Linked DNA regions of Homo sapiens: all the other regions are linked to region 6. The links are contacts of gene promoters, found by promoter capture Hi-C in blood cells and fetal thymus (Javierre and others, 2016). All regions are on one chromosome and are shown on one strand. Each heading gives the region's core, a stretch centred on a gene start or on the middle of the fragment in contact. The rest is flanking DNA. Distances are from core to core; before and after follow the strand shown.

Evidence for each region. The method cuts DNA at HindIII sites, captures the fragments that hold promoters and counts their contacts. A CHiCAGO score of 5 or more calls a contact.
Region 1: a contact is called between a fragment that was not itself captured here and the fragment with the promoter of CSMD3 in region 6, in 7 of 17 cell types (M0 macrophages, M1 macrophages, M2 macrophages and 4 more). The highest score is 10.9, in M0 macrophages.
Region 2: a fragment that was not itself captured here is called in contact with the fragment with the promoter of CSMD3 in region 6 in 1 of 17 cell types (megakaryocytes); the score reaches 5.2 in megakaryocytes.
Region 3: a fragment that was not itself captured here is called in contact with the fragment with the promoter of CSMD3 in region 6 in 8 of 17 cell types (M2 macrophages, megakaryocytes, M1 macrophages and 5 more); the score reaches 24.4 in M2 macrophages.
Region 4: a contact is called between a fragment that was not itself captured here and the fragment with the promoter of CSMD3 in region 6, in 1 of 17 cell types (megakaryocytes). The highest score is 5.6, in megakaryocytes.
Region 5: a fragment that was not itself captured here is called in contact with the fragment with the promoter of CSMD3 in region 6 in 1 of 17 cell types (M2 macrophages); the score reaches 5.3 in M2 macrophages.
Region 7: a contact is called between a fragment that was not itself captured here and the fragment with the promoter of CSMD3 in region 6, in 1 of 17 cell types (megakaryocytes). The highest score is 5.0, in megakaryocytes.

The regions. Positions count from the first base shown.
Region 1 is chr8:112,775,218-112,779,240 of GRCh38, forward strand. The region is part of intron 13 of CSMD3 (CUB and Sushi multiple domains 3); the gene reads right to left. Among named protein-coding and RNA genes, the nearest start is that of MIR2053, 130 kb to the left of the region's middle. The HindIII fragment of the contact is 959 bases long and covers 1,781-2,739 here.
Region 2 is chr8:114,116,915-114,120,584 of GRCh38, forward strand. No RefSeq gene overlaps it. Among named protein-coding and RNA genes, the nearest start is that of CSMD3, 680 kb to the left of the region's middle. The HindIII fragment of the contact is 2,361 bases long and covers 629-2,989 here.
Region 3 is chr8:112,758,547-112,762,535 of GRCh38, forward strand. All of the region lies in intron 13 of CSMD3 (CUB and Sushi multiple domains 3), which reads right to left. Among named protein-coding and RNA genes, the nearest start is that of MIR2053, 120 kb to the left of the region's middle. The HindIII fragment of the contact is 4,178 bases long and covers 558-3,989 here.
Region 4 is chr8:114,099,353-114,103,471 of GRCh38, forward strand. No RefSeq gene overlaps it. Among named protein-coding and RNA genes, the nearest start is that of CSMD3, 660 kb to the left of the region's middle. The HindIII fragment of the contact is 633 bases long and covers 2,196-2,828 here.
Region 5 is chr8:112,743,427-112,747,107 of GRCh38, forward strand. All of the region lies in intron 13 of CSMD3 (CUB and Sushi multiple domains 3), which reads right to left. Among named protein-coding and RNA genes, the nearest start is that of MIR2053, 100 kb to the left of the region's middle. The HindIII fragment of the contact is 2,433 bases long and covers 200-2,632 here.
Region 6 is chr8:113,435,650-113,439,811 of GRCh38, forward strand. CSMD3 (CUB and Sushi multiple domains 3) reads right to left here and starts at 1,290. Exons shown (of 71, transcript NM_198123.2): 1 at 1,028-1,290. The coding sequence starts at 1,205. RefSeq lists enhancers at 1-384, 2,162-2,211, 2,224-2,724. The HindIII fragment of the contact is 6,354 bases long and covers 1-4,162 here.
Region 7 is chr8:114,078,864-114,083,015 of GRCh38, forward strand. No RefSeq gene overlaps it. Among named protein-coding and RNA genes, the nearest start is that of CSMD3, 640 kb to the left of the region's middle. The HindIII fragment of the contact is 732 bases long and covers 1,567-2,298 here.

The sequences.
Region 1 (4,023 bases), core at 1,010-3,509, 660 kb before region 6:
AAACTTCTATTATTATGTTAATGGGTATACATTTTTATTTGTTCATATCCATGTCTACCTCTTGTCTAACAAGGCAGAAACTGCCTTAAAAGAAGAACTCAAGCATATAGCATCTGTCATAGCATAAATCCAAAAACTAGAAGTATTTAATAAATGTTAGTTGAATGAATCACATAAATTGTGATTTAAATATCACTGAATCAAGCTTTTATCATTTTGAATTCCTTGTTACTTATATTATATACAATAATTTATAAATTAAGTTTCGTTTTTTAGTAAGTCAAGTTGTAATCATTCTTCTTTTATTTTAAATCGTAGCAAAAAATATTTTGGTGAATAAATTAACATACTTGAAAATTTACACAGACTTTCTAGTTACAAGCAGGCAAAATAAATCAATTATTATTCACAACTGAGTGGGCCTCAAAGTCATATGATTATTTAAATGTAAGATGTGACAAACTAAAAATAAAAGTGAGTCTCACTGTCATGGATCTACTTAACCCACTTTGCCAATCTAGTTAATTCACAAAGCAATATATTTGTATTTCCTAAGCACCCATTGTGTGTTTTAACTATCTTCCATCTTTGCATAAAATATACATATTTAGAAAATGTGCTAATTTTCACAATAGTATTCTAAATCTGAATCATAAAAACTAATACCTTTTATCTATATATAGAAAGTTACCTTTATTTGCTGTAGTTTTACAATAATTAGGTCAGTATTTTGTAGGATTACAACTAAGACAGCACATTTACAACTTCTAGCATGATACTTGATATATAAAAGGTGCCCAAAAAAATGTTAGGATCTGTCTCATTCCTGACAATTGCAAGTAAGCCACATAAGGAGAAAATAGATTTTTCAGAGGACAGCTTATCTTTTAGAAAATGATAGAGCCTCATTTACATTTTCCTATTGACTCCTTATTTAAACCATGGGAAACATAACAGCCGTATCACCTGTATATGCACAATAACCATAATAATTTACATTGTGAAAGGAAATTCAGTGGATACAACAAAATAAGGTTCTTACCCAATGTTGCTTTTTAAAATTATTATTGTATTTTACCCCATTATTGAATCATATTTCTCAGTTTTTTTATTATCTTCATAAATTTTCCTACTAAATAATCCACCAAATTATTTTTCTTACGAAAATACATCATCATCTTATAAGCTTCAACTTGACTAAGATTTAGGCAACAAGAATTTGAAGTGTCAAAAAGATATAATTTACTTTCTTTCATTTACTTTTGGTATGCTGCTGTCTAAATCCTGTCTTCTAGACTAAGGTCAGATTTTCAAATCTCATATTTTCTATGGTGTCTTGCAATTCTCCATTTTCTTGAACATTAATCTTCTATTTTCAGATCTAAAAGGGTTGGAAAAATTGCCTTAAGACATATTGTGAGCAGCAAGTTTGAGGTAGTGTGAGCTTGACCAAAAATCCTATTACATATTCCTGGATGCTAATGAATATTTGAATTAATTTTTAAAATTGTCTTTTAGTTCTAAAGCAATGACCATTATATTGTTTCCTTACATTTCCCTCAGAAGTTTCTATATGTTAATTCTATATCAAGGCTGTTTGAGAAACACATCCTTGGGTAAGGAATTTTAGTTGATTCACTCGTGTGTAAAGATTAACAATAAATATACAATTTAATTTATTTTAAATCTCATCATATATTTTTATTGACCTCCCAACCTCTGCTGTAAAAGGATCCGAAACATAAATGTGGCTCTGGATAGAATGATTAAGCATGGGAAAAGCTTTTGTACATTTTTTAGTATGTTATTTTTCCATCTTCATTTTCTTCTTTTAAGCTGTATTTCTGGAGGGTTATGCATCATTTGTGACCAAAATTTGGAGATGCTGTGCCCAAAAATGAAAGACAAGCAAAAATAATAAGCACACAATATATTTACAAATACGTGTTATTGATAAAATTCAGCAAACTTTCCAGGCTTTGTCTGGTTCTTTCATTTAAGTAAAAGCAATATGAAATTTTTCTCCCACATAATTTCACAGAACACAAACCACGGAAAGAAAAGTAGTATGTTTAATGTAAATAAATATTGGTTGTATTTTATACTCTATTTTATAGCTTGTGTTGTTTGAATTTTTCTATTTGTATAAGGCATTTTCATCCTGTTTAGGATGCCTATTTAATGTATCTAACAGCTTTAAATGCAGATACTTCTTAATAAGTATTAGTTGTTGATGATATTATTTATGAACCATAACAATTGCCAGTATGTTCAAACACGATTATTTTAAAAGGTGTAAGCCAAGATATTTATACAAAGATAATTCAATTTGAGTTTCTATTGTTCCTCAAAGAAACAAAAAATGCATTTTCTTCTATTTGAGGAATTGCTTTGAAAATGCCATGACTTGGTGACCACGACTGAATTAAAAGACAGAGACAATATTCCATTTCCTTATCGCTACTAGGGATATATCAAGCAGAAAATGAAGACATTATTATTTTGAATGAGTTTTTCAAGTCAGTTTGAGTCAAAGTTTGCCTCCAACATATATTTAATGTAGTCTGCAATGTTGTGAAAGCTGAAATAAACATGAATGACACTTGAGAGCACTGGCCAGAATATGTTGCTTACTGATGCCCTGATACTTTTTTTTAACCTAAAACATTGCCATGGAAATTGAGTAGTAGACTAAATCAGAAAATCATATTAAATATATCAGTGAGAACAGCCACCTTAAGCTTTCCAATGCTTCTACTAACACAAAATAAAACATTTTATAAATATTTGTGGACAACTTTGGAAGTAGTAATGACTACTTTTTTAAAAAATCAATAATCTTTGTTTTTAGAGCAGTTTTGTGTTCGCAGCAAAATTAAACAGGAAGTACAGAGTTTTCATATACTCCCTGCCCTCCTTCACGTACAACCTCCCCAACTACCAACATCCCACACTACTATGGTACATTCGTTAAAATTAATGAAACTACACTGACACATCATTATCACCCAAAGTCCGTAGTTCACATTAGAATTCAGGCTTGGTGTTGTATATTCTGTGGGTTTTGAAAAGTATGATGGCATGTATCTACTATTGTCATATTATGTATCATAGCTTTACTGACCTAAAAATCCTCTTTGCTCTGCTTAATCTCTCTCGCTCCCACCTAATCCCTGGAAACCACTGATAATTTTATTGTCTCAATTGCCTTTTCCAGAACATCATATAGTTGAAATCATATAGTATGTAGACTTCTCAGATTGATTTCTTTCACTTAGTAAAATGCTTCTAAGTATCCTCCATGTCTTTTCATGGCTTGATAGATCATTTCTTTTTAGCGCCATAGTTTATTTATCCATTCACCTACTGAAAGACATTCTGGTTGCTTCCAAATTGACAAATATGGATAAAGCTGCTGTAAACCTCCATTTGCAGGTATTTGTGTGGACATAAGTTTTGAGTTCATTTGCGTAAATTTCAAGGAGCATGACTGCTGGATTTTATGGTAAGAGTATGTTTAGTTTTGTAAGAAACTACCAAACTATCTCTCAAAATGGCTATACCATTTTGCATTTCCACCAGCAATGAAACAGAATTTCTATTGCTCCACATCATCACCAAGATTTGTTGCCATCAGTGTCCTGGATCTGGGCCATTTTAATAGGTAGCTAGTACTATCTCATTGTTTTAATTTGCAATTCCCTAATGACATATGATGTTGAACATATTTTCATATGTTTAATTGCCATCTGTGTATCTTTTTCCAGTCTGTTCATATAATTTGCCCATTTTTTTAAATAAGGTTGGTCATTTTCTTATTGTTGAATTTTAGGCACTCATTTTGTATTTTGGATAGCAGTTTTTTATAAGATGTGTCTTTGCAAAGATTTTCTATTAGTCTGTAACTTGTCTTCTCATTATCTTGACACTGTATTTTGCAAAGATGTGTGTGTGTGTGTGTTTGCGTGTGTGTGTGTGTGTATATGTATTTAACATTGACCTCAGCAGTAGCTCAAAGTTTTT
Region 2 (3,670 bases), core at 559-3,058, 680 kb after region 6:
AAGCCCCAAATATAACAAATCTGGAAATTTTAAGTTGTTGGGAAGATTACTGAGCAAGAGAAATGAGTTTAAGATACAAGATCTAAAAGGTAGGCAGGAAACATATCCCATCTGGCATTGTAGTTCATGGTCATTATTTTGATGTTTACTCTTGCTGTCCTGGAAAATCACTGGAAGCCATCAAAATAAAGAGTGAAATCATCTAATATATATTTTAAAAGATAGTTTTGCCTGCTATCTGGAGAGTAGATTCTGTGGAGGTAAAAGCTATACTAATAAGTCCTGTTTGGAGGTTACGGCCACAGTGCAGATGATGCAAGATGACGGCTAGGTTTATGTGTGTCGTAGTAGAAGTGGTGAGAAGTGGTAAGGTTGGAAATATATTTTGGAGCTAGAATAGATAGGACCATTGGTGAGCTTGCTGTAGAGCCTGAGAGCAAGAGAAGAAACAGTAACGTTTGGCAATAGTATCATTACAGCGTCGTCTTCTTTATGCCCCCAAGATGTGAGTACAGAGACAGGCTGACATCTGAAATACTGAACAATCTAATTTTCTAAAAATCAAACACTATGTGTGTTCACAGGCTCGATGTTTCATCAAGTTGAGATAATCATCGTTTCCAAAAAAAGCTTTGCACTTTGGCATTCCATTTCTTTGTAATGCACTTCACTCTGCCTGGAATGATGTAGATGGTTCACCTCCGCCTCTCAAAACTTTCTTCATTTTTTAAGAATTAAAACAAATGCTAACTCTTAACAAAACTTTTCTGAATCCTATAAAAGGATCTCTTTCTCTTTAGTAGATGCTCAGAAAAAGTAGAATAATTAGAAGTCCACAATTAGTTCAAAAGTAGACCTACCAATTATCATTTAAATTTGCTTTATAGTGTATTTTAATTCATTATTTTAAATGATAAGATGAAATACAAAAATTTTATTCTGTCATACTTTTGCTTTCTTTTTTAAGTCAGTTATAATTGAGTAGCCATCAGAAGAATTTGATCATCAGAGGCAGCCCACATCCAATTAATGAATAGAAGCAGGGGAGGGTACAGTAGGATAAGAATGCTTGGCCGAATTACTTGAATTTGAGAGAACTTTGAAAGACTATCTCAGCTCCAGAACTTTCTGTGGGGTTGGCCAAGTCTTTTTTGCAACTGTACCAGCGTTCAATTTCTCTGTCTGCCCCACCTTGTTTCCCACCCTATTCTCCAGATTTTGTTATCAAGCATTTCCCAATAAGCCTCATGTACATGAACCTATGTTTCAGAATCTTCTCTAGGGTGCATGATTTCAGAATCAAATCTGATAAAAATAATAGCAAAATTATTTAGGCAATATATTTATCACAAAATTAAAACATGCAGTTTCATGAACGTCACATAAAGTTTAGTGAATGTTAAAATAAAACTATTTAAATATCCATTCAGTAAAAATGGCTTTAGATGAGTGTTCTGATCAACTTTTTGTGCTTTTTAAAATATATAACTTTTTTCATATTTTGTCTTATTCTCTTTCACACTAAGTTAGAAAAGTCTAGCATTTATGTGGCATTATAAATGGTAGCAAGGAAACATATAATAATATTGATATTCAGATAAAATAGAGATGAATATTATAAAGTTTGTGTTTAAGTAAACAAACCTTAAAAATTATATACTTTTAGTGAAAAAATCACTAATTCAATTTTGGTTATATTAGCATTTTTCTTTTTGAAATTTGTCCAATAATATGCCATTAATTTTTCTCTGCAATAAATAAAGAGAACTTTCAAATGTTGAAAAATTGTCAACCACTTGAGCCATTTTCTAAAATACCGTGATTTTATGTTAAAATTAAATGAATTTAAAGCTATGAAGTGAAACGGTAAAAATATTTAAGATACTGAATATTTTCAGTTCACTATCTCAAGTGCTAAATTCACTTGAGCAAGACACTTTACAGAAATAGTCTTCAGCCTCCTTTGAATCACAAATAAATTAATTTTTAAAACCCATTTCTATTTTCAAAATTTTGTTTGAGTATATTCTCACTTAGCAGAGGACAAGCAATATCAGTAAATCAGATTCTTAAGTTCTGTGCCCATGAATTTTTTTTCTCATGAACCAAAGAGGATTTGCCATTAGTCTTAATGCTTTAATCATATTCACAATTTTCACTGTATATTTCAAAAATTTGACCACCTTCTCTTCTCTCTAGATAAAGTGGCCTTTGGATTCACTTTCAAGAAAATTCCATTTTATCTCTAGTAAGTCCTTTGTAATGGAGAACCTATAGTAGTACTGTAACCTCCTTCATGAATTAGTCAGCTGAAAGCAACACCACAGTCCTCATCTGCAACTTTTAAGACTATGCTAATCATTATTTAGAGTGATTTCTCTAAAAATAATAATTAATATTAAATGTAATATGTTCAACATATAAATGAAAAATGTATTCCACTGTCTTCTTCTGCTGAAAATTTCAAAACATTTGCAGGCTATTTTCCATACTCCAAGGAAACCAGTGATGTGTGGCGTATAGAACACATTTTAAAATGATGCAGATTTAATGATATTAAAACAAACTTCAGTAGGATTATTTTAATTAAAGTGATATTAATATTCTGTGAGAAATTTGATAATTAAGAGTATTATTATAAAATGAAAAATCCACTGTAGTATACACACTGTATAGTATAGTACACACTATAAGATGACAATTATACTTTACATCTATAATCATTAAAATGTTAGTAGTGCAAGAAATGACAGATAAATGGAACAGAAATAAAGAAGTTATAATACCCAAAAGAGGCAGAAAGTGGTGAATAGGTTATTAATAGCAGAAGAAATGCAAATACTAATAACTATGAAAAATTGTTATCAGCATTAATGTTATATTCAAATAAATATCATATCTGTCTTGTAAAATTGACAAAGCTGCTCCTAATACTTCATGCCTGTAAGAATTATACAAGCAAAATGATATATTATTTTAAAAAATTTGAAGCTTAGTCTTTTTAGAAACATTAACTTAGAAGTATTTTAAAACGTTAAAAGTATTTATTATGGTTCACTAACAATTTTATCTAGGAATTCAACCAAAGACACTATCAGACATGGAAAGAAAGATTCATGAGCAAGTACTGATTTAATAATAAGATGGATTGAATCAAGTACAATGTGACAATGTGATAAAATATTCAACCATTATAAATTGTATAGGAATAAGTTACAATGACATGAAAGAAAGTTGCAAAACACAGTTAAGAAGAAAACTAAGACATAATACTATGCATACTTATATGCAATATGATTGAAATTGATAGATGCATATTTGTGGGTTTTGTGTGTATGCATCTGTGTGTATATATAGTTGCTATATTTTCTCCTTACATTATTACATAATATTTCACAATGAATATGTTTTACATTTATTATATATAAAGGTAACACTGCAAGCTCTGCTTTTTTAAGAGAAAGACTTGCTCGTTCCAGAACATACTGCAGATTAGAAGAAAATAAATGAAGCTGAAGAGTGTATGTTTTAGGAATAAACTAGGAATAGAAGAAGAAAACATTCCAAGAAACAGATAAACCTAAAGCAATGATAGTTACAGAAATAAAGTAACAAAAGTGATTATAATTTTTGCTTATTCTTCATTTTTTCTAAAGGCCTATGTATAACA
Region 3 (3,989 bases), core at 1,397-3,896, 680 kb before region 6:
ATATATTTTAAGTAACTACTCAAATAGAGAAACTGACCAGGTGAGAACTATATTGTAAAATATAAGCTTTGTGGTTACACCATTTGAATTCAAACTTTACTGTTCAACTTCATAATAATAAGGTATTTTCCAAGTTATTTAAGCTATTCAAGCCTCATTTCTTTATATGCTAAACAGAAAATAATAATTTCTACCTCATGATAACATTTAAAGGAGATAATGCACATGAAGATTTTAACATGGTATCTCACACATGAAAAGTGTTTGATGAATACTAGTTTTTAATGGGGATGGTATTTATTTTATTAACAAACTTAAGCAATGATTTGCATTTATAAGATACAGAAATAAATGCAAAACAGAATTTGTGTTTCCTATTTGTATTTGTGTTGAGGCAGGATTATATAATTGGTTTGTGAAATTATTACACAAAATAATAATTCAAAGACAGGGTTTAATTTTATAACTCTGGAAATAGCATGTTTTCGAAGATATATAGATTTCTATCAGAGTAATACTGTTCTTAGATTTATAGTTTTGCATTACTCTATTACACAAGCTTTGGTTTAATTAAGGCAAGTTAGTGATAAAAGGCCTAAATTTACAGCTGAAGAAATTAATAAAAGTCCTCCTTGGTTCTGACTTTCAGGAGGAAGACAGGATCAATAAAATAAACATCTGTGAGATAAAGGAGGCTTTTCCAATTATATTAAGTGATACACATATCATGCCTTTGATGACCCATCCTAGGAAAAGCTCTCTGTACTATAGAAGAGTTAGTGATATTATCATCATAAATAATTATAATATGCTTCAAAAATTCTCTATTAGTGTCAGAACTCAGGGTTCGTAAATAGTTAAAGGTTTATACAACCTGAAGAGAAACCAGAATGTAGATTTGAGTCTTGAGACTGATAAAGAAATCGTCTATGGTGATTCATAACATTTATATTACATTGAAATGTACAGAAACAATTTTTGAAATTCTATTTGGTTCTTACTACATGATTTGATCTTTGCTGGCAATATTTAAAGATTAGCTACTAAACAGCAATTGCATATGGTGATAGAACATAATATTGTGATAGAATACCCATTCTGTATTTGATTAATGTATCAAGTACCATATGCTATTCAATTTGGAAACTATAAATTGATTTTATTTTCAAACTATTATTGTAAAATGTGTTATTTTCGCAGCCTTTTAGTGATCTTTTTGCTATTCACTGTAATTTTCTTTGTCAGAATATAATCTTGACTGAAAGAAATCCTATTTTTAAGCAAGATTGTGTCTCATAATTACCATTCTCAGAATAATAGCTATTATTTATTTAGTGTTGTGGGTGTCAGGCACTTTTCTAAGTACTTTAAATGTGCTTCTTTCAACAACACTATGAGATACTGTTATGAATCATATATTCCAGGTTTGGAAACTGAGGCAAGGTAAGTAACTCTTCAAGGTCACAATGCTAATAAGTATTGGAATCCAAATAATAAACCAGGCCATGTGACTCCAGTACTAAATTCTTAACCATTGCATTCATTGCCACCACACTCCCAAAACACTATTCTATAATCAATTTTGCTAAAAATTTTCAGAATCAGATATTGTGACAAATAACAATCAATATAGCAAGCAGACATTAGATCAAACTTTTAGGAATGAAACCTTTTTATTTAGCAAAGTGAGATGAATTAATATGTACTTTTTATTCTTCAAGAGCAGTCACTGACAGGGACTAGGAGAATGGGGAGAAGAAGGATTTCTCACTTCCTTTTGTAAAGATAGACCCAGATGACTTCAAGCAGGCACTTTATTTCAGTTATTTGTTGGGACAACGTAAAATATTTCAATGAAAAATGAAATGTGTCAGTTGTCACATTATTTTCTTCATTTATACTTCATGCTAAACCTGACTGTTAAATTATCAATAACCAAAAGGTTTTCTACATAACTTCTATGAAAAGTTATTACATATAAATGTAAAACGTCCATTAATAAAAGATTTATAATATTTGCTAATGGAAATTGAAGCCCATTAAATTAACAGTGCATATTGCATTGCTTGGATGCAATCAGTTATTGTACAAATAAAAATATTCTTATCATCACATTTCCCCTTGAACTTCAATGAGTTTTAAAAGCAATTTGTAATTAAAGGTGTTTTTACATTTTGGTAGACTTATTCCCACCATAATCTCCAGCACCAATCTTCATCTTGAGGCAGAACAGCCAGGCCAGTGCTGCTCTTTTAGGGGAGGGATAGCCCAGCAGATCTGCAAGGGTTTTCTAGTTCAAATGCATTCTGCTTTGAGTTAAAAGTCTTTTGAGGCATTGTTTCTGGATGAAACTCTTCTTTTTAAAGTCATAGTAAAGGACAAGATTCCCTTGGAGAAGATGTGATTATTCAAATGAGCTTCAAGAATCGTGCCCTCCGAACATGGTCTTTGTCAGTACAAGAATGTCCATGACAAAAAAGCTGAAGACTGATTAAGAGTTCACTTATATCCCTTTTCAACAGAAGCAGACACAATCTCTGTTCCAATTTTCCATGGGACACCTTCAAATTACCTTTTCAATTTTTCTAATTTATTTACTAACATAGAGCCAACTCGAGATGTAGTTACTGGTAGTTTCATGCCATAGTTTCTTTTATTTCTCATTAAACATGCCACTGAACAGTAATATCTCTATCATTTAAAAAAAGGGAAACCACCAATGGAATTATTTCAAAAGTTGATTCTAGTTTGGTTTGAAATACACTGCTAAATTCTTAACTTCAATATTATGAATATGTTTTTAGAAAAGTATGTAGAATGTATTTTTACATTACTTAGCTAATTTATTCTTTTAGCTCCTTTTCATTTTACTGTCTGATCCACAATATTTTCAAAGTAAGCTACTAGGATCTATCTATACCAGAGATAAAATATCCTGTAAATATTTTTCATGATAAGTGTTACCCCTCTTCTATTTTCCTAGTCAAGCATAAATCAAGATGTTAATATTTGCCAAAATTCTGGCTCTTGTAATTTGTATGAAAGCAGTTTAAAAAGTTGTGAACCATATTTACAAAAAGTTTTTTTTTAAGTCTGTGCTTAATTCATGTCTTTAAAACTATACTATACAAACATTTTTTATTTTGCATCTCCATCAGTGAAACGTTGTGCATGCACCCATATTTATTTACTTATCATTTGTGCAAGTTGTGCTAGTGTATTAATACACCATGTTCCATATACATATGTATCCATGTGAGTATATATGTGTATGTGTATGTGCATGTGTATGTAAGTGCATGAGGAATCAATGCAATTGGCCTTGTGGTATTGCCAGTGGATCCTGACTTTACTGCAACCGAAAATCTTGAAGGTGAATGTTTTAGTTCACAAAGACAGCTACGTGGACAATAGTATATTTATAAGATTTTCACCTTTAATATAATCTATCATGCTTGAAAAGTTGTTATTATGAACCTCAACCTTCTGGTTTACCTTCTGCCAGCAGTAGAGGTCATTTAATACAGATGCTTTGCGTAAGTCACCACCAGATGGCATTCTTGTGTCTTTGATCATACACACTTATTTCTGAACTAAGAACTACTTTATTATGTGAAGTCTTTAACTAAAATTTATCTGCATCATCTTTTTAATTATGAGAACGAGGCAGCAGATATGTTACTTTGCTTACAGAGACTTAAGTTCTAGTTTTGGATTCTTTACCCATATTGGGAAAATTCTTTTACTTTTCATTGTACATGTATTGTCATAAATAAAGGATATCGGATTAGATGATTCAATTCAAGCATGTATTATCAAGCAGCTGTTCTGTCCATAGCACTGTGTTAAATGTGATGGAGGATATGGCAGTGAATTGTCAATGCTTTTAAATAGTTTAAGCTAGGCAACAGATATTTAGTAGACCTCTTTACCTGACTTCTATTTAATTAAATTGCCAGATTCTCTGTTGTTTTATATTTTCTTGGTAA
Region 4 (4,119 bases), core at 1,262-3,761, 660 kb after region 6:
ATGCATCAAAATTGTATATGTCCATAAATGAATCAGTACTCTGCATTTTAAAAAAGGAATTGTTGTTGCACTCAACAAGAGAGACGGATGTCAAGATATTTATGTTGAGTAGAAGAGGTAAGACAAAAATAATGCCCATGAGATTCCACTTATATAAAATCCTAGAAATGCAAACTAATATTTAGTGAAAGAGAAAATCAGTGGTTTCCTGAGGACTTAGGGGATCAAGTGTAGAGGAGCAAAAAGAAAAAAAAAAAGCTCATCATATTGATAATAATTATGGTTTCAAGGTTATATATATATATGGAAAGTTATGAAATGGTACACTTTAATAATGGGCCATTTAGGTATATTCATTATACCTCAATAAAACTGTTAAAATGAAATGACATTGTGAATTTGTTACACGTAAAATAACTGACTAGCTCTACATATTTTAAGAACCACTGTGAATTCACTTCATCATAATAAACTACTTACATTTATAATATGCTTTGCAGTTTAATAATCACTGTCAGTAAAATTATTTTGTTAATGCCAACAAAATCCCTACAAGTTTGATATTATCTTGATTTTATGTTGGAAAATCTGGCTTAGAGAGTTTCAATTATTTATTTGAGTTTATAGCAGCTAAGAATGTGCAGTAATCCCCTACCTCTGGCTGTCAGGCAAGCACCCTGTTTACTGGATCATACTTGCCTTACTCTTTACTGTAATGTCTTATCTGAAGTTCACTGTGTGCAAATTCTCTTTGAATGTTTATGGCATTCTCTATGTTAGTTGGTTTATATCATTGACCATATCATATTTCATTTTTATACACTTCATTTTTATCCAAATCTCTGAGCACATGCCTTTTACAAAAGGAATGCATAATGAATGCTGTGGTTGAATTAGATTTATACATTTATTTTTGTAAATCTTCTGCAATCTCTGCAAACTACTGTGTGTCACAAGGCCTTCACTTAAAAAATAAGCATGGAATTTCAAATCCATTAGACCTAATGGTCTCGAATATAAAGGAGTTCAAAGGAATGAATAAGCAAGTTCTCCTCTCTCAGTTTTCCCTGCCCCATGTGTTTAATCAGTTTACAAAACATATAATCACTGGGAATAAATACATACAGCGTCTTCCCAATGTTTATCTGTTATCTATTTTTTAAATTATTATAAAGTTCCTCCATCTGTATTTTATCAGGGACTGTATCTCTATACAATGACTTATAAAATATTTTAATGTGCTTACAAACATTGTGATGATCTATAAATAAGGGAAGTCTAGGACATTTTTAGTACTTATCTTGAGTGTATCTCATGCAGACAAAAATTAATCCAATGTCACTAATTAGAGATGTTGAGGTTTTGTGGACATCCTACCAGATTTAAGACATGTAGAAACAGAATTCTTTCACAGAGTCCTTTTACAGTTTGTTATTAAAAACTAAACCAGTAATTATTAGTTTATAATGTTTATAATGTGCTATAATATTCTTTTTTAGTGTAAAAAGATCTGGGATCCTCAGACCCATATATGAAATTATTGGACATTTAGTAGATCTAATAGTTTTTAAAATATCTAGGGGAGGTCTTAAAAATTGGAGGAAGGACTTATAAATGGAGGAATCCCTTCAATGAAGTATAGTAGAACAGTTCCTAGATGAATATATTAAAAGCAAATAATAGAAAAAAGATAATATTCCAATATTTATCATTTTTAGTAACTTGCATTTTAGAATAATGTAAAAATGTAAAAGTATGGAGAATTGTAGCCACTGCCTATATATAAATAGAATCGTTTTTACAGTTATAATATTAGGTGGCTCCTTTTTGAATCAATATGGTAATTTATGAACATATGCACACACAGATATGTGATCAATATATTATACATACGTATAGAGTTTATATATTGAATATATTATAAATGCATGTAATCAAGTATAATTAAACTGATATATACTTTACAATTTTATGGAGAAATAATAGACTGAATATTTACTACATCTAGTGATGTAGAAAGAAACATTTAAAATGGCTTACAAAAGAAGGAAAGTAGAAGAAAGTCTATGAAGATTATGTGCCACCATATGTCAATAGAGAGACAGGGTTCCTATAACCCAAGGATAAAGAATGAAAACAAACCTATTCTGTGATGTATTACAGTGATAAAATTGATATACTGCAGTCTTTGTGAAAGCTTTAGGCTTTTTCTTCAATTAAAAGCATATTTGAGCATACACCATAATTCACCATATGGATGAATCTGAATTCTGTGAATGGAGACAGATTTGCTATATAATATATTTCTGTATTTTTTTAAACTTCATATTCTTTTGTGAGGCACTTTTTGAAGGAATGAGTTTGTTAGGAAATTTATTTGAATAATAAAGGACTAAAGAGTATCAAGTTTAAACTTTTGATGGGGCTGAACTTTGTTAGCATTCTTATGATTAAATTTAATGGCATAAGAAGTAGCTGAATTGGCATTCAAGGCTTAAATAAAGTGAAAAAAATTTACAGATTTATGGCTGATAACAGATTTATTTCACTTCTCATTAATTTTGTGAAAAATACAGACTTTATGCTTCTCTATCATAAGCAATATTAGAAGTGATATTAATTATGTTTTACTTGAAATAAAAATGTCAGTTTTAAAATTTGCTATTATGACTAATTATGGCATTTTTGAATCACAACCCAAGACCCAAAAAACAGAAGTATAAAAGTATAATCTAAGCAAAATTGTGGTGATCTCTAGAAGTAAATAAATAGGAAATTACTGTCTAAAACATGTCAGAAATGTTGGCTAATTGACACTGGGATTTAAAAGCTTTGCTCTAAATAACATGGCTAAATATTGAAGGCTAACTCTAGCCCCAGGGATATGTTTTTTAATAGTCTTCTTGTATTAATTGTATCCAAAAGGTTATATAACCATTTAGTACAGTTTGATTTAATTATAAGCTAATTTGATAAGGGTATGAGTCCATCAGGAAGACTATTCAAAGCATAAGCTATCTTTACATGGCAAGTAGTTAGCAGAGTTTATAAAATGTTTACAGTTATGCCCAGATTTGACTGACTCACAATAAAGTTAATTACATCTTATCTTTGTGAAACTGATGTTACTTGTTTTATTTTCGACACTTGAATTTTAAAGCATCTCATTTTTGGGAGGGGGTATCATACAACTGGAAGCCTTACAATGATAAGCTAAGTAGAAATATAGCTAAAAAGCACTTTTGAAGCTGTTTCAGGCTACCGATAGCTGTCATCATTTAAAAGTAATTGCAATATAAAATTAATTATGTTGTCATAGATGAACAGTGACTCCTCTCCCTTCAAAAGGCAGAAAAGAAAGAGAAATGTAGTTCATTTCTAAATGCGGCACCTCTTCAAACTAGAGGTGGAGCTCAAAATGAGCTTCAGGTTTTATAAGATTGAGAAACTGATTTCATTATATATTTTCCATCATGTGACAATATTCACTTTCCAATTTTTGCCATCTGTCTCCTCTTATAATTACTGCTTAAAAAAAGAAAAGAGTTGGGGTGGGCACAGAGTCATTCATCATGTGGCAGTTTACACTGGTGTCTATTGTGGGCTACCATCATAATACAATAACCTATGCAAATAATAATAATAATATGTAGTGTTTTAATGCAGATAAAAGAAAATAAAACAAGAATAGTGTGTTCACAAAGTGGTTAAAGAGCATTTTAATTACAACCCCTACCATCAGCTTCCAGTTGTGTTTGTGAATAACTTTATAGCCTTAGACGCTTTTGATTAAAATCACTTTATTCTATGATACAAATAGAAAAGTCAAGGTGGAATTCTACTAAAATTGTTGCAAAAAATTTAAAAGGAGGGACTCCTCCCTAACTCATTTCATTAGGCCACCATCATGCTGATACCAAAACCTGGCAGAAATACAACAACAAAAACACAAACTTCAGGCCAATGAACATCAACGCAAAAATTCTCAATAAAATACTGCCCAACTGAATCCAGCAGCATATCAAAATCTTAACCACCACGATCAAGTCGGTTTCATTTCTGGGATGTAAGTTGGTTCAACATATGCAAATCAATAAATGTAATTCATCACATAAACAG
Region 5 (3,681 bases), core at 166-2,665, 690 kb before region 6:
TGAATCATTCCTTTTAATTTCTAAATAACGCTATGGATTAAGGCAGTCTTCAACAAGGAAAAAAGCCTAATAACATCTCAGCCATCGGGATGGATATTTCCTTGTGATTCTTGTGATTATGTATATGTATACAAAAACTTAAAAAAATCCTTTGGGAAATACCAAAATAGATATTATTATAATTTTTAATATATAGCAAAGCTTTCTCTTTTTCTGATTTTTAGAGAAGACAGAATTGCCTCTCTAGTAATGTGAAATTTCATTTAACATTTAAGATATAAACTGGATTTTTAAAATGTGTTTCTTTAAAAGGGAAAATAGTTTTTACCATGTGCTTTTTCTTTTAAATACTTGCATCATATAAATAAAATCGTTCTGATAAACACCTGGTTCAATTTTGCATACCTCATGGAATATGCCAAGTAAGACAATTGCCTCTCACTGGTGCCAGGATATTTCATTAAAAACATATGATTAAACAAGATAAGATAAACAGATGTACAAGCAAGCAAATCTGATATAACCGCCAGGTAAAATTATTTCCTGAAGAGAACCTTAAATCTATGAAATGGTCTGTTAGGCAATGTTATTATATGCAGCATACTAAATATAATTTTTATGAAAAGGTTGTCATATAAAAAAAGACAGAACTAAAAAGGAATGAACATTTAAAAAAATTGTCTCAGATGTACTTCTGGAAATTTCAGAGTATTAAATGTACTGCAACAATTTGTCCATACCACAGCAAGCTCTGTCTCTGTTATATTGAAGGATTACTGTTGAAAGAATGTCATTGAGAGCCTAAACTAAATCTAAGAACTTCTACATCAGAAAGAAGTTTACAGAGATCATCAGATCTTAAAGAATGATGCCTTACTCTCAAAACATAATTCCCATGCCATTTCTGGATGTAACAGTTTAATGCATAGATATTAGAACAGTACTGATTTGAAATAAGTAATTGAAATTATTTCTCATTTTTAACTTTTATTTCCTTGGGAAAAACATAGGAAGACTTTTTTTGTGTTTAAAATACAGTATTTATCTTTCAGTAATCACATTTACTAATATAAAATACCTATTTTATAGATTAAATGATTGTAATTATTTATAAATTGTATGACAGTAAGTCATGGTTTCAAATGGAGTACTGAAAGGGAGAAAACAACTCTGTCCTTAATATAGAGATTTTTTTTTCTATTTTTCTTTCTTATTTAGGCAGTTATTTATTTTTAATTATTAAATAAAATGAAGAGACGACTTTGGGCGTAGGTGACAAAATAAAACCTCACAGATCTGGGTGATTTAGAGAATGAAGAAAAGTCAGCTAAACAAGAAATGAGACAGCTTTCCAAGTGCAAATAGCATTACAAACAAAGATAAGAGACAGCAATGGGCAAGATGTGTTGCAGGTAACCTGTGCAGACTGGTCTGGCTAGAGAAGATGATTCGGCGGTCAAATTAAGAAGCTCCAGCTTTATCTTGAGCACACTGTAAACCTATTTAAGGTTCTTAAGCAGGGAAATGACTTGGTCACATATCTGATTTACAAATATAACTCTGAAGATGATGTGTTTGAGGGGACAAACGGGGGTGTGCACGTAGTTAGTGCAAAATGAAGCACAGTTATGATACAGGTAAGCGTGGTCAGCTGCTGCAAAACAGACCTGAAACAAACTGGTGAATTGTAAATTGGTACAATTTGATAGTACCCTTAGGAAGTGAGAGTGGGAATAACTGTGACAGTGTGTACTTAACACTGTTGAGTGTTTTCTCAAGAGTCCAGGTAGTTATAGTAAGTTGTAATTGAGAGAAAAATATATCATGTTGGGAGGGCTCACTGAAAACTTGTGTAGTTCCTAGGTTTTCTTCCTTTTGAAGAATGCACCCCATATCATATCAAACAAGAGAAAAAATAGTTTCTACTATATATCATATGTTCCAAATTATAAAAATAATGCAAAATAATATATTTTAAGTATTTTTTCAAATGTAAAAAAATAAGTAAATGGGTTTGTATATTGTTTTGGTCTTTTACTACTGTACAATTTACTTATAATTGGCTATGCTTTCTGTAAAATTATTATGCATACTCAGAAATGCTTGGTTGATAAAGTTACCCAGCATATTAATTTCATAGTAATAAACTTTTACTGAATATTAAATTCAGCAATTAATGAAGTTATAAAATGAGTTTGTGTGGATATTCATGCAAAAATTTACTAATGTCAATTCTAAGTTTCTTTTTTTTGTTTTTGGAGTTGTTTTTATTTTTTATAATTTTCAAATATTTTTATATACTACTGAAAAAGTTTAGAGTCCTTAGGAAATATGACTATAATGCTTACTAATACAAAATGCCCCTAGATAATGTAGGGTATTTATTTTATAATAGATACTTTAAATGTCTAACATAACTTCTAAGAACATGTTTATTTCCAAAATCACAGAAGAAAAACAGGGAGGAAATAAGAACTAAAGAAACATTTTGCTAATTTTTTTTCTTAATACAGGTAATTATTTTGTTTTTTTGCAGGGAAAATAAATCGATGGGCAGTGTTATGATCAAACGGCAGTTGACAGTTATTCCCACAAACTTTGAACTCACCTTTTCAGTATGGGAAACTCATAAAGCTTAAAACTGTATTTATCAGATTCCCTTGCAACTATAGTTTTATATGCTAATCAGATTATTCCAATTAGATGTAGCCTCCAGATATTTGGAATAAATAAGAGAACAATCTCCTGACGCTTTTGGCTATTTTTTTCTGTTGACAAGTAAGACTGTAGAGATAGGAGTTCACCCCTCTCTTTGCCAGCATTATTACTGCAATAACTGTTCTGCTCCACTGGTGTTAGAAAAGCACTTTAAATGGAAGTAGCTTCCTGGTCTTGGTTTCTTGGTCCCTAGATCTTAGCTATAGTGAGTGGTGTGTCTTTGCTCTTAGTGATTTCAGACAGCACTTAATTGTCTACCTTCTTGATTGTGATAGAGTCAGTAGCTCCCCATGTGGTATTCTGTGACTCATCCCTGGAGGACCATCTTCCAGCTTGCTCTTCCAGCCTGTCTACAAATTTGAAAGCACCTAATATGCTTTATTAAAATCCTCTCTCCTTAAAATATATAGTGTTGTTCTTTCTTACACTGAACTTGTCTGATGTAATTAGTACCTCTTTCTTTATGGCTGTTTTATTAATAATAGAATAGTTATATATATTATTTATTTTTGAATTATCTCTATTATTACATTTGTATATTTTGCATTCTACTGCCTTAGGGTCTTTTGTGAGCATGACTATAAAGAAAAGTTGCCTAAAGGCAACCCCTGTAGCAACCACCTCCAGCATTTGTATCTGACAATATAATTCAACATGCTGTCCTAGGAGTGGAAGGAGAGAGAAAAAGACTTGGAAGGATAGAAATTCCTTTGCTTCTACCACTAGCTACCTCTTCATGTTGTCATTAACAAGTCTCTATTCACTATTTTTCTTTCTGTTGATTTCAAAATTCATGTAGACATTCTACCCAAGAACTTTTTACTTGACCTCCTCATTTCCAAGGAAATTTTATTTTACTCCATCGCAGGCATTCATTTACATGCTCAAATACAAGACTGTGTCATTTCCAAGAAAGGTACTACCCTTAAAATTTCCATATCATAATTCTACTCTTTCCTCTAG
Region 6 (4,162 bases), core at 40-2,539:
GAAACTAGCTTCACTGAAAGCGGCATCCATAGCGTCTATTCGAGCTGCCATGAGTATGGAGAGGTGATTGTTCAAAAAATGATGGCATGAGTCATAAACACCTCCTGAGTATTCTTTGCAGCAATTAATGGGCAGCAGGGTGCCGGAGAAGTTGTGGAAGAGAGCTATGGATCTATTTTCTCCCTAAGGACAGCTCTTTTTCCCATGATCCTGACTGTCCCTTGCCTTCCTGCTTGGGAATACATTTTTACATCCCACCTACCCCCTCCCCTATCTGTGCATGTGACACTCACTCTACCTGTCTGAACGCTGAGACTTGCTGGGGATTTTCTTTTGGTCGTCAGCTAATGACTTTCCTCCTACCTCATTCATCCCTTAAGGTGGTTCTTTACACTTCATGGCATTTCAGACCCTTCGAAAGCCTCATTTTTTGCCAAACCTCTACCACAGGTCCTAGGGAAGCTCCCCTACATTTAACATTGCATAGAAGCCCAATTTACATACATATGCATGCAGACATTCATGTTGATGTGGCAGTGCTTGGAAGATCCCTGTGCCCTAATGCATTTAAAATCAACACATTCCTAGCACGTCGATAACTTTCTTCCCTGAAAGGGTTAAAAAGCATTTAGACCAGCGTCTTTAATATATATATTCCACCCAAAGCCTCAAGCCCTAGTGATCTGACAAGAAATCAAGGTAATCCTCACCACTAAGAAAAGTCTTGCAGAGGAATTCTGCCTGGATATCCACTAGTTAGAGGCTATACTAACCAACTCACGTATTCGTTTGAGCATACTGCAAGAATATTTATTGAGCACAAGCTCAATCACCGCATTGAACGCCAAATCTGGCAAGCAAAATGCATTTCCTATCTGAGGGGGGGAGAACGAGCTGTGAATCAACTCCTTTAGTATTATCAGATTATTTTATCGGTGCAAATTGCAAAGTAAGCTGCCAGCCTCTCTCCATCTACAAGTCAGCCCACCTCCATCCAAAGCGGAGGGGACCCCCAAAGCAGACCTACCTTTCACACAAGACACCGTCAATAAAAAGACGAGGTTCCAAAACGTAAATCCACTTTTAATCCCCATTTTCTTCATCAGGATGAAGTCTAGGCGGCCACATTTAGCGCATCTTCGCTTGCCAGGCTCCCAGGGTTTGGATTCCTTTGCTCGGCTTTCCCCTTTGCGGATCCCTTTCATATTATTCGCGAGCTCCTAATTCCTGCTCCTCAGCCCGGCGCAGTGGAGTTGTTGCTGTTGTTGGTGCGCGGTCACAGCTCGGAGTGAATGGTGTTTCTGGGATACCACAGCAACCTTGACGAGGACTCAACCATCTCTCCAACGGGGGCACAAAGTCTCCGCTACTCTGGATTCTGTCTTTTCTTGTGCGTTTTTTCCCCTCCACCAAAATCTACCCCAATTCTGGCTCGTTATAGCAACCACCAGAAACCACTAGTGAGCCTCTTAAAGCCCACCTCTGCTCTCTGATAAACTCCACACAATATTTGAAATTAAGGGGCTTGCTTTTTTTCCCCGAATAGATCAATTCTGCCTGTAAAAGCAGCCCAAGAAATAATGTTAGTGAGCTCTCCGTTGCAGGCTGCGAATACAGAAGCATGTCAAAGGAATATTTTAATCGGAGGATCTGTGTTGCTTTTGGGGAAACCGTGACGATAATGAATCGGGCTCCATCGATGCCCACGTCGTTATAATGGGACATGTGTTACTACTGTAGTTGCAGTATATTTCAGGCAGGCTTCTCCCATTTATTATCCTGTGATTTAATTGAAAAAGGAAATCACAGAGAATTTTCTCAATAAATTCTGCCTTCACACGGAAAAGAATGTATTTGAACACATGTATTTACATACTCAAATAACTACGTGTAAACCCTTCACCGGGTTTTTATGATTCGGGAAACGGATTTCATCCGTGGCCTGGGCGGGGGTGGGGTGGGGAGGGAAGTCAATGTCGTTTCCTCAAATAGTTCTCCCTTTCATCCTCCCAACCCCCTTTTCAGTTTGTGTGTGCCGCAGTTAAACTACTTTATCTGTGGTAGTTATCTAGAACAAACCCATTTGTCTTAATTCTGAATCGGTACCAAATATGTAAATAGGAGGTTTCTTTCAAAACGAAAAATGTATGTATCTATACATCTGGATCTGCTTCCCCCATGCACCACGCAAGGGTTAAGATTGCACAAGGGAAGAGTTCTTGCGCCATCTACTGGCCGTCTCCGAGCCGCCCGTTCTTCCTTCGCATGTATAAGGGACCCTGTTTTTGCCATCCCTTGGTGTCAGGGGAGCTGTGTCCCCGGGACCAGTATGTCGTGCTCCTTGATTTTTTTCGACCACGGTCCTGGCCCAAATCTTTCAATGAACAAGTTCCTTAGATTAGGCAACTGATTGGTGATCTGACCTTTTCGGGAATCTGGTCCCCTCTCAGCAGTGGGGAGTGCCACAGCGCTAGTTCTGAAACAGGATATTGCTGTTGCGTGTGGCTCCATTTAACTGCCTCAGGCTATCATGGGCGTGAGCGTCTATCAACAAGGCTTAGTCTAGAGGACTGCCCAACTTGAGTTTGCAGCTCCCTGCACTGTGCACAAATAATGGGTTTGGTCCCGTGCACCACAGCATTACCCTGGCCAGCTTTGTCCCTTGGCTCGCGTTGGAGCTGCCCGCTCAGCAGAGGAAGGCGTTAGAATCTGGAAGGAGTTCCGCTCTGGGAAGTGGGCACACTGCGAGTGTCCATAGGTTTGAGTGGCGAGTGAGTTCAATCTGCAGGCGTAGGAAGGCTTCTGATCTCTCGGGGTACGTGGCATTGTGTGTGGGCCTGTGATTCTCCCAGTTCGTGTGTGTGTGTGTGTGTGTGTGTGTGTGTCTGCGCGCGCGAGAGCATAAACGCGCTGTAGTGAGAGGTAAGTGTGCGTGTTTATGAAAGATACAAAGAGTGATTTGCCATGCGTAGGTGTTTTCCCAAGTGTATTTTTGCAGTACATATGCGTGTGCACGCCTGTGTGTGTTTGTGTGTTAGAGAGGGATTTCTGTCCTGGGTAGGGAGCTGTAGCAAAAGGTAAAAGCTGTAGACGCCCAGCTGACCTCATTAAATTCAGAGAGATACTTTAAGAGCCCTCAGGCAGAACATTGTCCCTTCTTTTCAGTGCTCTCTTTCATTGTCTGCATATGCAGGTTTCGAAGGGGAGTGGGCAACAAGGTAGGGACTAGACAGAGACTGGGAGGATCAACATGGAAAACGACATTAGCCTGCTAAGCCACCTTGGCAGCTGCTCTGGCATTGATTTCAGTCAAGATGTCAGCGTGTGGTGTTGCTGCTGTTGCCTTTGCTGGGCTGGACAACCAGTTAGAGATGTAAACAGGCCCTTGGACTTAATGAGGATGCTCAGCAAAAATCCTCCTTACCAAGTGTGCAGAGGTTAGTCACCTCAACTGAATTTACTTCTTATTAAAAGAAACAAAAATATTGGGTTTTATGCAATCTATTTGAACACATAACACATGGCTATACATCCAGACAGGAGGACTTCATGCCAAAAAAGCAAACAAACAAACCCCCCCGCAAAAAACCCTTTCTCAAAAGACAGGGTATTTTAACAGTAATTATTGTGCACAAAGTAAGTAAATTTTGATTAAAAGACCATAAAGATTACTAGTAAGATACCAATTTCTGATATTTATTTTCAAACACATGGCTAATCCTGTAATCCAATTATCTTTCCCTAAATGAATCCTGCCTATCATTTCATGTGAGATTGTTAAAAGATTTATCTGGAATCTCATAATATATTGAACAATACTATAATATCTAGTTTCTACAGCTCACAATAAATCACAAACCATTTTCACCTGTGTCTTCCAGCTTCTGAGACAGGATGGAAAATAATATTTCACAGACGGAAAAAGTTAAGGCATGAGGAGCTAAAGAGGTTTATCCAAAGTCACTATCAGGAACTTTGGTGTTTAGTCCAATGTGTTTAGGGCTAGATCTCACTAGTCTTTCTTGATGAACAGTATCCTCTTTAAGGAAAGATTTCCAAAGGTATTCCAGAAACACAAAATTTTCAGCCACAATCCTGGGTGAGAATCCTTTAGTTTCTCCAGAAGGGGTGGGGGCGGGGGAGGGAACATAGTGTCTACATT
Region 7 (4,152 bases), core at 683-3,182, 640 kb after region 6:
ATTTGTATCCAAGCTAATTCATGTCAAATTCAATTATAAAAAAAAGGAAAACTTAAGTGTTTCCACAGCTAAAATATAAGTTGTAATAAATGGAAAAATATTTCACCAAAGGAAACACTCTAAATACAGATAAATGTTCTGTGATTTTATAATAATTTTTTAAGAAACACAAAATCCAATATTAAACAAATACTTCCAGGGAAAAGTTTAGGATAATATTTTTACTAAATTCAGGCAAAGACATTGCTACCTCATTTATTAAGTGAATGCAAACACTATAAATAAAATATTAGTAAACTGCATTCAGCAGTGTGTATATATGATAATACATTATGGACAAATAAGGTTTATCCCAAGAATGCAAGGTTGGTGTAATATTAGTAATTTAATTACGGAGGTTTTGATATTAACAAATTAAATAGAAAAATCATGTGATTTCCATAAGTGCACGAAAAGTGCTAAATAAAATTCAACATATAGTCACAACTTTTAAGCATCAAGATATCAATAAAAAAATAAAAAAGATAATAAAGGATAATTTTGAGCTAATAAAGGACAGACACATAAAACTAGAAAAAAGAAACACTGTTGAAGGGTGTATTTTGAAAGTTGTTACTATAAGATGAGGAAACAGACAAGAATGCTCCTGACACCCATTCTTCTTCAGGAAAAGAAATCAAATTAGAAAAAACAAACAAAGGCAATTTTTGCAGGTATCATGATTGCTTGAGGAGAAAACCATAAAAATAATCCAAAAATACACAATGAAAATATATTAAGAATATTTTCTGATTACAAAATCATTATATAAGTAGAATTTGTAAAAATCCCTAGTTATTAGTTAATAATATAAGCCAAAAAAACAAAAATGGCAAATAAAATGTAAACTTTTTTAGAATAAATGAAGGTAAAAATTATGCCTTCATAGACAAAAGTACAAAATTGTATTGAAAATGTAACAGGGACTTACAAAAAAGTGAGATGTATTATAGAATAGATTAGCAGTCTATCATATAGATGCCAGTTCTCCTCAAGTCTATCTATAGATTAAATGCAATTTCAAATCATATTTCAAAAGGTACAGTTTTTGTCTGTGTTTGTGTGTGTATGAGAGAGAGGGACAGAGAGAGAGAGAGAGACTTCTCACACCCCCTTTTTTTTTTTTTTTCTGTGAGACAGAGTCTCACTCTGTCACCCAGGCTGGAGTGCTGTGGCATGATCTCTGCTCACTGCAATCTGCCTCCTGGGTTCAAGCGATTCTCCTGCCCCAGCTTCCTGAGGAGTTGGGATTACAGGCACCCACTACCACGCCCAGCTAATTTCTGTATTTTTAGTAGAGATGGGGTTTCATCATGTTGTCCAAGCTGGTCTCAAACTCCTGACCTCAGGTGATCCACTTGCCTCGGCCTCCCAAAGTGCTGGGATTACAGGTATGAACCACCACACCTGGCCTCACACTCATTCTAAAATGAATATGGAAGAACAAGGGTCACAAATAATCAAGACACTTGCAAAGAATTTAAAATTTAAATGACTTTTTTCTGTCAAAATCAAAATTGAATATAAAGCTTTAAGACAGGATGATATAAGCAGAAGGGCAGAAATACAGAAAATACGCAACATAAGAACAATTTGTTGTATATGTAGTACTTAATCTATAACAGAATGGGTCTTGAAAATCAGACAGCTCAAAAAATGGTGGTAATCAATACATTTTGCAGCAAATATTTGCAATTCTAAAAACTCCTTATGTTATACCACAAACAAAAATGAACTTTACACTGATTAAAGACTTCAATTAAAAGGTAAGACTAAGAAATGCACAAATGCTATTAAGAAAGAAAATGAGAGCTTTTTTTTTAATTGACCATGTGAAAGGAAATATTACTTAAACCACATAGAAATAAAGCTACAAACTATACAGAGGAAAATAGATACACTCATTCAAATTCAAATTCAGAAATTTGTAATTTTAACTTTCCCATAATCCTATAAAAGCAATGAGGAGAGAAGCCACAAAGATATTCCCAACGAAGTACGGTTGATTTTCATTCTCTGCAGTAATAAGTGTTATAAAATCTCCCTGAGCACTAATTTTACAAATACTGACATATTGCTCCTAGAGGAGATACAGGATTAGGTTCCTGTGAGCCTGTGGTCACAACATTTTTATCAACTGACCAATGCATAACCTTCTTTTATGTATGATTTTGTTTAATAACACCTTACTTAATATATATATATTATTGATTAATTAACAATAACTTATGGCCAATTGCACAACTCATGCCTAATTAAAGCTTCTTTAACACATGTATTTTCTCTATAAGGCACAACATTACCTCCTTGCACTTACTAACACTAGACAGCACTTAATTACTATGCTTAGGGGGCATTTTCAATGCTGAAATCACCAGCAAAACACACACACACACACACACACACAAATATGAGAAATATGACACTATGTAGACCATGAAGAGAGTGCTTCTTTATAGTATGAGAGCACAAACCTGAAAACAGAATGTCGACTTGGTCTGCCTCAGCTGGGATTGTGCATGTTCAAAGCGCAACTCAAATATTTTGCTGTTCCGTGCATATCTGCTAATGAGCACAAAGCACTACAAATATTGATTGTAGCATTACCAGTTAATTTTGGCAAGGAGGCAAATTTGCAAATATGGAATCAGCAAATACGGAATCTGCAAACACTTATTCAAATACCAAATGAAGATTCACTGGATTAATATTTGGAATGTATAAAATATTCCCTATGAATTCATATAAAAGAGTAAAACAATCCTGTAGAAAATGGGCAAAACATGTTCAAAATTTGTCATAAAGAGAAGTCATGACCAACCTTTTTAGTAATCAGGGAAATGTTAATTCAAAGCATGATTTTATATTCCTTCCTAAAGATTATAGTGAATTATAAAGCCTAACAATAAGAAATATGGGTGAGAATGTAGTACGATAGGATCACAGTAATATTATTTTTAGTAGTATATATTGAATTAGCCATGTTAAAAACAATTTAACATTTTATATCATAAGATTAAATGTTCATTTTCTACACCAAGCAATTCAATCTAAGATATATGCCAATGGGTAATTTTTTGAACTTGTGTACCAAGAGTCAGATATAAGAATATTCAGCTCTGTATTTTCATAGTAGCAAAAATATGTAAACATCCCAAATGCATATCCACAATGGGATGGACAAATAAATTATGCCATCTTTATGTAAAGGAATACATAGGAATGTTCAGAAGTAATAATGAATGAAGTGGTTCATCAACATGAGGGCATCGACATGAGTGGATTTCAAATAGATAATGCAGAAGCACAGAAGCAAGTGATAGAAGAATACATATAATGGAAACTGGTTAAACCATTTAATAAAATAGATAATATCAAACAATATTTGGGAATTGATAATACAAAATCCAGTTGTGAAAGATAGAGTGAATTGTAAATATGGTGAGATTCCTCAGAGAGCTTTTAATATGAAGGTAACATCCTATTATTTCTTAACTGATGATTATATAGATGCCATTATACTATTTTTCCAGGCTATAATATAACTTTCATGCTTTCATGTGTTTGTATAATATCGATCAAAATAAAATAATAACATCAAGATTACCTAAGAAATAAGAACATAGTTTGCCTCTTAAATTTGTAGAAGGCTTTAAGGTTTGCGATTTATTTTACTTAATAAAACTTAAATTGATGAGACTGAAATATAGACATATATATGAAAACATGAATCTGTTTTAGATGTTTTGTTAGGTAAAATCATTCACAAGGCCTAGAGCCTTCTACAAACGAGAGGTAAACCATATTGTTACTTCTCAGGTAATTTCAACTTTACTGTTTTTATTTTGATCAAGAAGAAAGAAATACCATAGTCAGTTCCCTTAGGAGAAAGGAAACTGCTTCGTGCTCTGTTTGTTTGTTTTTTAACACACTGAACAACATTCTCAGTCATTTCATCCCAAAACTTAAGATATAAAAAACACTTCCATATCATTATTCTCTGTTGAAATTTAAAGCAGAAGGAAGGAAGGAGTTACAGATAAGAAGACACCAAATTAAGTTTAGCTGCATAAGTTTAGTCTAACTCCTGTTTTGTTTTTTCCATACCTCAAT